Regions from separate parts of the Homo sapiens genome. Here all the other regions are linked to region 4. The links are contacts of gene promoters, found by promoter capture Hi-C in blood cells and fetal thymus (Javierre and others, 2016). All regions are on one chromosome and are shown on one strand. Each heading gives the region's core, a stretch centred on a gene start or on the middle of the fragment in contact. The rest is flanking DNA. Distances are from core to core; before and after follow the strand shown.

Region 1 (2,700 bases), core at 92-2,591, 530 kb before region 4:
ATGGTATTCTGTGCTTATGGTCCCAGCTACTTGGGAGGCTGAGGTGGGAGGGTAACTTGAGCCCAGGAGACCGAGGCTGCAGTGACCTGTGATCATGCCACTGTACTCTAGCTGGGGTGACAGAGTGAGACCCTGTCTGAAAAACAAAAAATCCCACAACAAACACACCAAATATTGATTGAATGAATAACAACTGTATCCATAATAAAAAAGAGTATTATAAAAAAACATTAAAAAGCAGAAAATACTTTGGAACATTAATAGTATAATAAGACATTTTAAAGAATTAATTTTAAAGAATTCAATAGGAGATTTGCAAAATAAAATTGAGAAAATATCCTCAAGATACAGAATAAAATGATGAAAGATAATAACAAAAAAGATAATAACAAAAAGATAATAACAAAAAACATAAGAAAATTAGATATAGCACAGAATCTTAACATCAAACTAATGGGAATTCCAGAAAGGAAGGACAGAAAATTTGGACAGAATTCAAGCATTCACTGGGTACCTGGGTAAATAAATGACAACAGAATTATTTCAAGGCACATGATTGTGAAATTTCAGATTCCGGGGTATAATAAGAAGATCCTGTAAAGCTTCCAGAGAGTAAAAGGAGATCACAAACAAAAGATGAGTATCAGAATGATGTTGGACTTCTCAATGACAGCACGGGAAACCAGAGACAACGAGATGATAACCTCAAAAACTGAGAGAAGGTGGTCACAACTTTTGAATTCTATACATAGCCAAGCAATTAGATTAATGTGATGGTGAAATAAAGAATGGTTCAGATATGCCAAGTCATAAAAGTGTACCTCTCGGGCATCCTGTCTTAAGACACTACAGAAGAAGTGGCAAAATTAGGGAATAAACCATGGAAGAAGATCTTTGATCCAACAAACAGAGGACAGAAGACAGGAAAGGAATTCCCATGCTGAGGGTAGTTTCAGGAAGGGAGCCACACATCAAGCTGAGAGAATGTCCAGTCCAGAGAGGAGCAGGAGTGGGCAGGGTCCCAGGACGTGTGCCTCTGAGAAATACATTGAACTAATGGATTAACTGATATACTAGCATGGAGATGGGTTTTTAGTTCTGGTTGGGAATAGTCTGGGGATAGTTTGAGAAAGCGTTAATTATGGGTACATAGAAAAGTAAGCAAATGAAAAACTAAGGCAATTATTAATTCAGGAAAAACAAAAAGTCATACAAGAAAGGATATGTGATCATAACATACCAAATGACAAACCTGTGAATTACATTTTTATAGCCAATAATGCAAACATTGAACAGTAACTTAAGAAAAAATCTTGATATAACTTTACTGAGAGAATGATAGAAAAGGGATATAGAGATGATAGATAGGTTAAAAGAGCTAAATCTCTGTTTTCTATTTTAGGAAGTAAAAAGTTAAAATCTTGAAGTGAAAAACAAAATGAAAAAAATTCTAAAAGCATGTGATCTAGAAATATGACAGTAAACAAGAGAAATACACGACAGATTTGAAAGTGATTGCTTTGGTGTGCGAGTCCCGGGCAGAGGGAGGAGTGGTCCAGGGAAGATTTTTCTTGTTACAAGTCTCGTGGTTCTGTTCAACTCTTTAAACTGCATAATGAAGTCTTTTGATAATAATAAAAAAAACAGTTAAATTACAGCAGTATGGTAATGAGGGGATGGTCTTATATACCATCTCATCTGTAATCTGTTGGCCTCTTGGTGCAGTACTAATAGTGAGGGTTTGGAGACAGCTGCACCATTGGGGCCTAGTCATGCGGAACGTGGTGTCTTCTTTGAAGCAGTCATGAGCTTATCATATTCTTTCATTCTCTGCTGGAATAGAAGGTCTGGGAACCAAGAGTCTCTCACTACACGTTTAAGGATAGATAAATAAACATGCAAATAGCACACAAACATTAGGTTATTTCTCCTAGCTGAAAAAAATTTACTTTTTATCCCACTTTCTCCTTTAGCTATTGCTTTATTTTTCTGCATCACTTTACAGCCACATTTCTCTAAATAGTTGTTCACACCCATTGTTTCTAATTCTTTTCTCCCTTTCTTTTTGAATTCACTCCAACAAGCTTTCATTCCCACGACTCCACTAAAAACAGCTCTTTTTAACATCTTTAATGGCCTCTGTGTTACTAAATTTAATGGTGAATTCAGTTTTTCTCTTACTTAAGGAATTGGCAGCATTTGATGCAGTTGGCAATTTGGAATTCCCCAGACACTTTCTTTGCTTAGCACTCACTGAGCTCATTCTCCTGGTTTTCTTCTTGCTGTTGGCTGCTCCTTCGGTCTCTTTTGTGGGTTGCTCCTAATTTCTCTAGCCTCTTAATGTAGAAGTGCTCAGGAAATAGTTCTTGGACAGCTTCTTTTCCCTACCTACGCTCACTCCCGGCTCGCTCTCTTGCAGCCTCATTACTTTAAATATGATCTATAAGTTGATGAGTTCCAAAATGGTATCTTCAGTCCTCTCTCCTTTGAACTTCAGACTCATGGATCCAATTTCACACTTGGTCTTTCTGCTTGGATGTGTCTAAAAGGAAATTTTTGTTGGATCCCAAACCAAACTCCTGATCTTCTCCCAGCAAACCTGCTCTTCCCAAACCTTTCCCACATGAGCTGGGGGCTATTCCATCCCTCTAGTGGCTCAGTCTAAACCTTGGTATTGTCTTCGCGTCTCTTCTTTCCCTT
Region 2 (2,700 bases), core at 87-2,586, 810 kb before region 4:
ACCTTTGGCAAAAGTTTTCACTTCGATCCACTATCCAGTGGCTCACGCTCCTCCAGCCTCAAGTCAGCCCAGGGCACAGGCTTTGAGCTGGGCCAGTTGCAATCCATTCGTTCAGAGGGCACCACCTCCACCTCCTATAAGAGCCTGGCCAACCAGACACGCAATGGAAGCCTATCTTATGACAGCTTGCTCACACCTTCAGACAGCCCTGATTTTGAGTCAGTGCAGGCAGGGCCTGAGCCAGACCCACCTTTAGGCTATACCTCTCCCTTCCTGTCAGCCAGGCTGGCCCAGCAACGGGAAGCTGAGAGGCACCCACGTTTGGTGCCAACTGGCCCAACACACCGAGAGCCCTCACCAGTCCGTTACGACAATCTGTCGCGCCACATTGTGGCCTCTCTCCAGGAACGAGAGAAGTTGCTGCGCCAGTCACCCCCACTCCCGGGCCGTGAGGAAGAACCAGGCTTGGGGGACTCAGGCATTCAGTCAACACCAGGCTCGGGCCATGCCCCTCGTACTAGTTCCTCCTCAGATGATTCAAAGAGATCACCTTTGGGCAAGACTCCACTGGGACGCCCAGCTGTCCCCCGTTTTGGCAAGCCAGATGGGCTAAGGGGCCGGGGAGTAGGGTCCCCTGAACCAGGCCCAACAGCCCCATACCTGGGCCGATCGATGTCTTACAGCAGCCAAAAAGCCCAACCTGGTGTCTCTGAGACAGAAGAAGTGGCCTTGCAGCCATTACTGACACCCAAGTAAGTATTAGTACTATCCTGACCCTTAGCCAATTTCAAATTAGCATACTGCTCTGCAAAAGCTATCAGGGCTTCTGTTGTACATCCTAATGTAGGTGGACCCAGGGGTATCCTGGTAGCTCTTTATTTTCACTTTGACTCTACCTGCCTTCATGGGCAATTCCTGTTAAGAGACTGAAGATTAATACTTTTTCCATAATGCTATCTTCCTAAAAGTATTTGCTTGGGAGTAAGTACATGTGATAGCTGTTACTAGAGAGTAGTAGTACATAGGAGAGATTGGGAATCAGGCTTATTTTAAGCAGGGCAATAAAGGGGAATGTTTGGGTAAGAAAGTATGGATATAGAAAAGAACATCATTTTTTTCTCTGAACCTTTGAAACTGTCTCCCTTTCCAATGTTTTCTGTCCCATTTCCTGACACCTACGTCTTGTCTCTTCTTTCCAGAGATGAAGTACAGCTGAAGACCACCTACAGCAAATCCAACGGGCAGCCCAAGAGCTTAGGCTCAGCCTCCCCTGGCCCAGGCCAGCCACCTCTCAGTAGCCCCACGAGGGGAGGAGTCAAGAAGGTGTCAGGGGTTGGTGGTACCACCTATGAGATTTCGGTGTGAGCCTTCGGCACCTCCCCTCCCCAACGCCTCTGCGCCTACACCAAAGGGCCCCAGGTGGCCACCTTCCTTCCCTCAAGGGGCTCCCCTCCCGTGCATGGACATTTTTTAAACCACCGATTCCAAGAGGATGAGGAGTGTTTTCTAAAATGCAGTAGGCTTGGGGAGTCGGAGAGTTGGGGCCCTGAGACTGGGGTAGCAACCCCCCCTTTTATCTTTTAAGACCTTCCCTTCCTTGATCCCTGGACCAGACTCAGTGGACATTTGTGCAATTGCTCGCCCTGGAGGGAACCAGATCATTTTTAAACCAGAAATAATTTTTTTTATTATTGTTACGGATTCTATTTTTTTCCTCTTCTGCGTTACCAGGTGTGTGTGTACATATAATATATATATATATATATTATAAATATCAAAGAAATTATATATCTATCCTGGGATGGGAAAATGAGGGAGGGATACATATACGGAGGGGGATCTTACTCTTCCCATTCCTCAGACCAGCAGGAAAAGAGGGGAGACGTCAGTCTTTTTCCTGTGGTTCCCTCTCATTTGTCCCAGTTACTAACTACGGAAATAGCATCCTCTGCTGGTGCTAAGTGTGATTAGGAAGAAGCCTGGGGAGAGGTGAGTCTGGAATTTTGGTCACAAGAGGGAAGGACTTGGAGAGGAGAATTAGTTTTCTAGGCTCATTGGCATTTAGTTTCCCTAGGAAAGGGGTCAAAACTTCAAGACACTGGTGGTGGTGGGAGATCAGGAAAATAACTTGGCCTAGCTCAAACAATATTGGATAATCCCCTCCTTGGGGGAGAGGGATTAGAGTGTGCTCCTACTGGCCCCTTGGAGCCTCCCCTAGCTTACACAGTTAACTTGATTTTAAAATCCAAGGCCAGGAGAGAAGAATCCAAAAAGCAATATTTTTCATCACATGCCAAAAACGGGGGATAGAGAGAAGGAGTGGCAGGCCTAGGCCCCTCCGATTGTCCCTTGGGGGTTACCCCTCAGCCCACCTCACTATGGTGCTGGGTAGAGGGGATACCTGGGTTCTAACCTCTAAATAGGGGAGATCCCAGCCTCCACAAAGAGGCCCTTTTATTTTTTATTCTGATTAGCCATTTTAAACCAACGAGGAATAAAAAGAAATCCTGATCTAACCAGCGCCCCCTGACTTGTGTTATTTTGTCTGGTTGAGACAGGGTGAACGATCTCTGGTGGGAAGTTATCAGTGACAACCTCATAAACTTCTCTGGTCCCAGCCCATCTTTAGGCAAGACTATAATGAAATTAGCCACTTAACAACTAAAAAAATAAAAAAGAGACCCAGTGCGGTGGCTTATA
Region 3 (2,700 bases), core at 67-2,566, 650 kb before region 4:
TTTCCCTCTGCTAAGAACACTCTCCCGGCCTAAACTGTGAGCTCTGGAAGGAGAAGAATTGCGTACTTTGTTCACAAATTTAGGGCTAGATTGAGTCATATGTTTCAGTGCTTCTCAAACTTTCACGTGCATGCGAATTATATGGGGATCATGTTAAAATGCAAATTCTTTTTTTTTTTTTTTGAGGCAGAGTCTCACTCTGTCGCCCAGACTGGAGTGCAGTGGTGAGATCTTGGCTCACTGCAACCTCCGCCTCCCGGGTTCAAGCTATTCTCCTTCCTCAGACTTCCAAGTAGCTGAGATTACAGGCACCTGCCACCATGCCTGGATAATTTTTTTTTTTTTTTGTATTTTTAGTAGAGACGGGCTTTCATCATGTTGGACAGGCTGGTCTCGAACTCCTGACCTCTGGTGATCCGCCCACCACGGCCTCCCAAAGTGCTGGGATAACAGGCGTGAGCCACTGCGCCCAGCCAAAATGCAGATTCTTATTCAGCAGGTCAGGAGTGGGGCCCCAGATTCTACATCTGAAAGTTCCCAGGTGATGACAGTGCTGCTAGTCCAAGGAAAACAATCATGTGGATACCCATTCACTCATTTATTGAACAGATGTTTATTGAGTGCCTGCCATGTGCCAGGTATTATTCTAGACATAGAAGATATAACAGTGGATGGGGCAGGATAATAATTTATCACTCTCAGATTGAAAGCCTGTAAGTATTTATTCAATATTTATATAGTTGAGGTGGATAGCAACTTATAGTCTACTAGCTAAAATTGTACAGTTGAGCCACATGATATGCACATTCAACTTTTGTATTTTTATCTGACTTTCATGCTTTCCAATGCGTTTTTGTTTTGTAGTTTCTTCTTTCTTCATGAGAGTATGTGTTTGTGTGTGTACCACTTCTTGGGTGATAGATTATGGGGTTAAACTTAGATAAAATCACTCTTAGTAGATACCACTATGTTGTACATTATTTAGTTTTATAATTCAAGGAGGTAACTGTGACGTGAAGCTTCAGGCAGCCATCAAATGACTGGTCTCATCATTAGTTTTACTGCCTGTAGTGGCACCATACAACTTGGGCATGTGATTCAAAAAATGCTGAACAGAGATAGGTCAGTCCAGGCAAGGAGTGTTTTAAAATGTCCACCCAAAGAAACAGTCTACCTCAATTATGTAGAAACATGAGTTAACCAGTACCTTATTTCTGATTTATTCCAGTGATGTTTTACTACTTCTTACAGATGATGGTCTAATCAAATGTCCAGTTGGCCAGTGACACACAAAGCTATGTATTTACTAAATCTCATTTCTTTTTCCTCCTCTGGGTGAAAAAAGGACTGCATTTCCCAGCCTTCTTTGCCATATATTAGCTGTAAGACTGGTTTCAGGCCAATGATACACGGGTCAAAGTGATGTGAGCCAACCTCAGGCCAGGTGCTTAAAAATGCTGTGTGACCTTGACCATTTCCCCCACCATTAAGATCTTGGAGGTCAAAGGGTGAGATGGCAGGATTGCAAGATGAGAGGGGCTCAGATGTGGAGACACTGGATGGATAAATTTCCCTGAGAGTCACCTGATGTGTCTCAAATTTAGCATAGGTGGAAAGCTTTGTGGTATGAAGTCACTGACATTTGGGGTTTGTTTGTTACTATGGCATAAGCAATCTGCCTAATAGGTGTTCTGACTGTCAAGCTAGGGCCTACCACATTGTGTTACACCTAATTGCCACATAAATATTTTCGAGATGAATGAATTAGATTAATTTTTACTAAATCTCTTTACCATAAGATTCTAGTCCTGACTTCAACTGAATGTACTAAAAATTTAGTTTATAAGTTAAAAGTAGGTGGAGCATAGGAGGAATTTAGTAAAGATTTGCTGAATGAAAGAAGACAAAAATGAGAAATTTTCACCCTCAGCTTCCTGGAAGGGATTTTTAAATTGTTCATTTTTAGAATGTAGGTAGTAGGTAGGTAGGTAGTTAGGCAGACATGATCAGGGCAAGACAGGTCCCCCCTCCAGGAATGTCAGGCAAGCATCAAGTGATGGTCAGGGGGTTGTTAAACTGTCTCTCTAAAGTAATAACTGGTTGCAGCCAGTGCCAGGGAGAGACAGTCTTCCAATAGAAAACACGTGGGCCCGGCACCGTGGTTCACACCTATAGTCCCAACATTTTGGGAGGCCGAGGTGGGTTGATCATTTGAGGTCAGGAGTCTGAGACCAGCCTGGCCAACATGGCGAAACACCTTCTCTACTAAAAATACAAAAATTAGCTAGGTGTGGTGGTGTGCACTTGTAATCCCAGCTACTCAGGAGGCTGAGGCAAGAGAATCGCTTGAATCCAAGAGGTGGAGGTTGCAGTGAGTCGAGATTGTGCCACTGCACTCCAGCCTGGGTGACAGAGTGAGACTCCATCTCAAAACAAAACAAAACAAAACAACCTAAACCCCTACCCCCCCAAAAAACACCTGAAGCTGATGATCAGCAGCTTCCCCATAAGATGTCAGGAGTTGGGTGAGTGGGCTCATGCATGCATGCTAAGAGGTAAAATGGTGAAGTTTAATTGCTGTGTGGTCTTCTTTTTTTTTTTTTTTTTTTTTGAGACGGAGTCTCGCTCTTTCGCCCAGGCCGGACTGCAGTGGCGTTATCTCGGCTCACTGCAAGCTCCGCCTCCCAGGTTCACGCCATT
Region 4 (2,700 bases), core at 9-2,508:
TTAATAGTGAATGAAAAATTCTTACAATTAAAAACAGGATGAGGAAAATTTGGTACATTCATTTGTATGCTTCAATCTTCTGCTTTAAACCACGTCAAGAAACTAAAGCAAGAAAAGCTTAACTGTCCCATGTTGTTGTTCACTAAATATAAGATTATCTTTCTAAGTAAGACTTTCAACGTGCTGCTTTTTACATCTTCTAATAGCAGAAGTAACCGCTGTTCTTGGGGAAGAAAGAACTGAAACCAGTCAAACGTTAAAAGTCATGATGGCATTTAGGTGTGAGAGAAAGTTTATCCCTTAATTGCTTGCCTACTTCCCATTCACATTTAATATTGGGGGTAAAGTTTGTTGAGTATTTTCCAGAGAGCACTTTTCACTTCTTTGTTCCTAAGGCTGTATATCAAGGGATTCAGCATGGGAATCACCACTGTGTAAAACACAGAGGCTATTTTGTCTGTGTCCACGGACTGGCTGGAGTTGGGCTGTAAGTACATGAAGATGATTGTGCCATAGAAGATGGACAAAGCAGTGAGATGGGAAGCACAGGTGGAGAAGACTTTCTTCTGCCCTTCAGCAGAATGCATCCTCTGAATGGTGATGCATATGAAGAAGTAAGAAATAAGGATGACCAGGAGGGTGAAAAAGACGTTGAAGCCTGCCACAAAGACCACCAACTTGCTGATGCGTGTGTCAGAGCATGAGAGAGCCAGGAGTGGGGGAATGTCACAGAAGAAATGATTAATCTCATTAGAACCACAGAAGGAGAGTCTGAAGGTGCCTGCTGCATGGATAGAGGCATTGAGGAAGCCAGAGACATAGGAACCAGTAGCAAGGAGGGCACACACACCTGCTGTCATGGTGGTGGTGTAATGAAGAGGCCTACATACCGCTGCATGGCGATCATAGGCCATGGAGGCCAGGAGGTAGCACTCAACAGTGGCAAACCCCACAAAGAAGAAGAACTGAGCTGCACATCCATCGTAGGAGATGGCCTTGTCCCCTGACCGCAATGCAGCCACCGTTTTGGGGGCTACAGCTGATGAGTAACCCAAGTCTACAAGGGAGAGGTTACTGAGGAAAAAGTACATTGGAGTGTGGAGATGGGAGTCTGAGTGGATGATCACCATCATTCCCCCATTCCCAAGCAGGGTGATGAGGTAGATGAATAAAAATGCCAGGAGGAGGGGTATCTGAAGATTGGGGTCATCTGTTAATCCCAAGAGGATAAACTCTGTCACTTCTGTGCTATTCTCCATTGTGGCCAGCTTGAATTAGCCTGGTGATTAAAGAAGAGGCGTCAACAAAATTCCAATGAAAGTATGAGAAGGGAGGATGGAATGATAAAAAAGGAGAAAACTAATGTATAGAGAGAATGTACTGTGTGTAACACTCATCCTAGAACCCTCTGTTATATTATAGCTTTTAATTCATATGAGATAGGTGCTATTATGCCCATCTTACAGATAAGGAAGTTAAGGCTCAGGGAGCTGAATATTGAGCAAGATAGCCTATCTAGGGGTCAGAATCAAAGTTCACCCCTTTATATTTCTGAATCTAAAGTTCATACATTCATCTTGAATTCTTTAACACATTTACATCATATAAATACAAATTATGATGTGGATATAAGATTGTATGTATTTAATTATTAAAAATAAAAACATCCATCACTTATTGTCTTCCACATTCTACTTCCAATAATATAGCCTCACTAAAGATTTTCTAAATTTATTTTTCCTTAAAACAACACAAGTTTATTCTCTCAAAATTCTGGAGGCCAGAAGCCTCAAATCAGTTTCACTGGGCCAAAATCAAGGTGTTGGCAGGACAAGGTGGTGCCCTCAAGGTCTGTTTGATACTAAATCCAAAGATCTTAACCACAACTTTTGAAGCCTTTATAAATTAATCCCTCAACAGTAGTTCAACTGAAAGGGAGTATGGTATATGTAAATATGAGTATGTATTTATATATATTTAATATAAAACTATAAATTTGATATATACAAATGGCTTTGTGTATCTGTGTATATGCATATGTCTTTTTTCACCCCTTATCAGAAGTCTTTGCTGTAGACCCTAATTCCAGTTAAGTCCTCCTTTCTCTCCCTCCTCAAAGCACTTGAGTCTTGGCTGATTATTGCACAATTAGCTGGGCAACCACTCACTCTTCACCTAGCTCTAAGCCCCTTGGGACAGTAACTATCTTCATCCCCTCTGGTCCACTCTCCTTACCATGGCCCCTCACACATGTATGTAAATATTTGGTGAATCAAACAGAACATCAATAGGAAAGTATGGAAATATTTTTCATGCTCTTTAATCCCACAACAAACATCCTATCATCCTCTTGTCTACCAGGTTTGTGCTTTGGGCCAAAATATTAGCTTAGACTTGTCATATGAAAAATATTCAGGAGTAACAGTGAGTTTGCAGATGGTCAGGCCTGGAGACAGGTTTCTGTCCTCATTTTAGAGCATTCTTTCTCTCCTATTTTTGTTCCTCAACCTGAGGTGTTCACAGGCTTTCCCCACTCCTAGTAGCAGAGTGAGTGGGAGCAGACTCAGAAGAAGTGAGGGAGAAAATGTGAGAAGAGAGGAGGAAAAAGGAGAAAACAGGAATTAAAGGAGAAAAATGCTTCAGCTCTGCTGGACTTTAGCTTACCTTGAAGAGTAACAGCAGCAATTTGATTGGTGACAC
Region 5 (2,700 bases), core at 196-2,695, 790 kb before region 4:
CAGTGTTTGTGTCCCTGGGTACTTGAGATTAGGGAGTGGTGATGATTCTTAACGAGCATGCTGCCTTCAAGCATCTGTTTAACAAAGCACATCTTGCACCGCCCTTAATCCATTTAACCCTGAGTGGACACAGCACATGTTTCAGAGAGCACAGGGTTGGGGGTAAGGTCACCGATCAACAGGATCCCAAGGCAGAAGAATTTATCTTAGTACAGAACAAAATGAAAAGTTTCCCGTGTCTACTTCTTTCTACACAGACACGGCAACCATCCGATTTTTCAATCTTTTCCCCACCTTTCCCCCCTTTCTATTCCACAAAACCGCCATTGTCATCCCGGCCCGTTCTCAATGAGCTGTTGGGTACACCTCCCAGACGGGGTGGTGGCTGGGCAGAGGGGCTCCTCACTTCCTAGTAGGGGTGGCCGGGCAGAGGCGCCCCTCACCTCCCGGACCGGGCGGCTGGCCGGGCGGGGGGCTGACCCTCCCACCTCCCTCCTGGACGGGGCGGATGGCCGGGCGGGGGGCTGACCCCCCCCCACCTCCCTCCCGGATGTGGGGCTGACCCCCCCACCTCCCTCCCGGACGGGGCGGCTGGCCGGGCGGGGGGCTGACCCCCACACCTCCCTCCCGGACGGGGCGGCTGGCCGGGCGAGGGGCTGACCCCCCCACCTCCCTCCCGGACGGGGCGGCTGGCCGGGCGGGGGGCTGACCCCCCCACCTCCCTCCCGGACGGGGCGGCTGGCCGGGCTGAGGGGCTCCTCACTTCCCAGTAGGGGCGGCCGGGCAGAGGCGCCCCTCACCTCCCGGACGGGGCGGCTGGCCGGGCGGGGGGCTGACCCCACCTCCCTCCCGGACGGGGCGGCTGGCCGGGTGGGGGGCTGACCCCCCCACCTCCCTCCCGGACGGGGCGGCTGGCCGAGCGGGGGGCTGACCCCCCCACCTCCCTCCCGGACGGGGCGGCAGGCCGGGTGGGGGGCTGACTCCCCCACCTCCCTCCCGGACGGGGTGGCTGGCCAGGCAGAGGGGCTCCTCACTTCCCAGTAGGGGCGGCTGGGCAGAGGCGCCCCTCACCTCCCGGACGGGGCGGCTGGCCGGGCGGGGGGCTGACCCCCCCCACCTCCCTCCTGGACGGGGCGGCTGCCGGGCGGAGACGCTCCTCATTTCCCAGACGGGGTTGGTGCCGGGCAGAGGGGCTCCTCACTTCTCAGATGGGGCGGATGCTGGGCGGAGGGTCTCCTCACTTCTCAGACGGGGCGGCTGGGCAGAGACACTCCTCACCTCCCAGACGGGGTCGCGGCCGGGCAGAGGCGCTCCTCACATCCCGGACGGGGCGGCGGGGCAGAGGCGCTCCCCACATCTCAGACGATGGGCGGCCGGGCAGAGACGCTCCTCACTTCCCAGATGGGATGGCTGCTGGGAAGAGGCGCTCCTCACTTCCTAGATGGGATGGCGGCCGGGCAGAGACGCTCCTCACTTTCCAGACTGGGCAGCCAGGCAGAGGGGCTCTTCACGTCCCAGACGATGGGCGGCCAGGCAGAGACGCTCCTCACTTCCCAGACAGGGTGGCGGCCGGGCAGAGGCTGCAATCTCGGCACTTTGGGAGGCCAAGGCAGGCGGCTGGGAGATGGAGGTTGTAGCGAGCTGAGATCACGCCACTGCACTCCAGCCTGGGCACCATTGAGCACTGAGTGAACCAGACTCCGTCTGCAATCCCGGCACCTCGGGAGGCCAAGGCTGGCGGATCACTCGCGGTTAGGAGCTGGAGACCAGCCCGGCCAACACAGCGAAACCCCGTCTCCACCAAAAAAGTACGAAAACCAGTCAGGCGTGGTGGCGCTTGCCTGCAATCGCAGGCACTCGGTGGGCTGAGGCAGGAGAATCAGGCAGGGAGGTTGCAGTGAGCCGAGATGGCAGCAGTACAGTCCAGCTTCGGCTCGGCATCAGAGGGAGACCGTGGAAAGAGAGGGAGAGGGAGACCGAGAGGGAGAGGGGAGAGGGGAGAGGGGAGAGGGGAGAGGGAGAGGCAGAGGCAGAGGCAGAGGCCAGAATTTGTTTTCATTCTTTATTTTCTTTCCCTAGCTTTTTATTGTTGTTGTTATTTAGTTTTTATTTCATAATCATAAACTTAACTGCAATCCAGCTAGGCATGTAAGGGAACAAGGAAAACACGGAACCCAAAGGGAACTGCAGTGAGAGCACAAAGATTCTAGGATACTGCGAGCAAATGGGGTAGAGGGGTGCTCTCCTGAGAGGAGAGCACAGAAGGAATGGTCTGGTGGTGAAGACAAAACAAGTCAAACTTACTAGACTTATCCACAGTCAGCAATGGTGATCTTCTTGCTGGTCTTGCCATTCCTGGACCCAAAGCGCTCCATGGCCTCTGCAATATTCATGCCTTCTTTCACCTTGCCAAAGACCACATGCTTGCCATCCAACCACTCACTCTTGGCAGTGTAGATGAAAAGCTGGGAACCTTTTGTGTTGGGTCCAGCAATTGCCATGGACAAGGTGCCAGGACCTGTATGCTTTAGGATGAAGTTCTCATCATCAAATTTCTCCCCATAGATGGACTTGCCACCAGTGCCATTATGGCGTGTGAAGTCACCACCTGATACATAAACCCTGGAATAATTCTGTGAAAGCAGGAACTCTTACAACCAAATCCTTTTTGTCCAGTGCTCAGAGCACGAAAGTTTTCTG

The links. The method cuts DNA at HindIII sites, captures the fragments that hold promoters and counts their contacts. A CHiCAGO score of 5 or more calls a contact.
Region 1: a fragment that was not itself captured here is called in contact with the fragment with the promoter of OR5B21 in region 4 in 1 of 17 cell types (endothelial precursors); the score reaches 5.2 in endothelial precursors.
Region 2: a fragment that was not itself captured here is called in contact with the fragment with the promoter of OR5B21 in region 4 in 3 of 17 cell types (naive CD8 T cells, total B cells and naive CD4 T cells); the score reaches 5.3 in naive CD8 T cells.
Region 3: a contact is called between a fragment that was not itself captured here and the fragment with the promoter of OR5B21 in region 4, in 2 of 17 cell types (endothelial precursors and megakaryocytes). The highest score is 8.1, in endothelial precursors.
Region 5: a contact is called between a fragment that was not itself captured here and the fragment with the promoter of OR5B21 in region 4, in 3 of 17 cell types (naive CD8 T cells, endothelial precursors and megakaryocytes). The highest score is 8.1, in naive CD8 T cells.

What each region holds. Positions count from the first base shown.
Region 1 is chr11:57,981,198-57,983,897 of GRCh38, forward strand. No RefSeq gene overlaps it. Among named protein-coding and RNA genes, the nearest start is that of OR9Q1, 41 kb to the right of the region's middle. The HindIII fragment of the contact is 1,482 bases long and covers 601-2,082 here.
Region 2 is chr11:57,698,667-57,701,366 of GRCh38, forward strand. ZDHHC5 (zDHHC palmitoyltransferase 5) reads left to right here. Exons shown (of 12, transcript NM_015457.3): 11 at 1-752; 12 at 1,200-2,516. The coding sequence ends at 1,365. Among named protein-coding and RNA genes, the nearest start is that of MED19, 12 kb to the right of the region's middle. The HindIII fragment of the contact is 3,103 bases long and covers 1-2,700 here.
Region 3 is chr11:57,861,313-57,864,012 of GRCh38, forward strand. No RefSeq gene overlaps it. Among named protein-coding and RNA genes, the nearest start is that of CTNND1, 100 kb to the left of the region's middle. The HindIII fragment of the contact is 598 bases long and covers 1,018-1,615 here.
Region 4 is chr11:58,506,847-58,509,546 of GRCh38, forward strand. OR5B21 (olfactory receptor family 5 subfamily B member 21) reads right to left here and starts at 1,259. Exons shown (of 1, transcript NM_001005218.3): 1 at 1-1,259. The coding sequence starts at 1,259. The coding sequence ends at 330. The region is part of intron 2 of LOC105369313 (a long non-coding RNA gene); the gene reads right to left. The HindIII fragment of the contact is 6,996 bases long and covers 116-2,700 here.
Region 5 is chr11:57,715,737-57,718,436 of GRCh38, forward strand. All of the region lies in intron 1 of TMX2 (thioredoxin related transmembrane protein 2), which reads left to right. All of the region lies in intron 1 of TMX2-CTNND1 (TMX2-CTNND1 readthrough (NMD candidate)), which reads left to right. It also overlaps the pseudogene PPIAP42. Among named protein-coding and RNA genes, the nearest start is that of TMX2, 4.5 kb to the left of the region's middle. RefSeq lists an enhancer at 1-327. The HindIII fragment of the contact is 5,340 bases long and covers 1-2,700 here.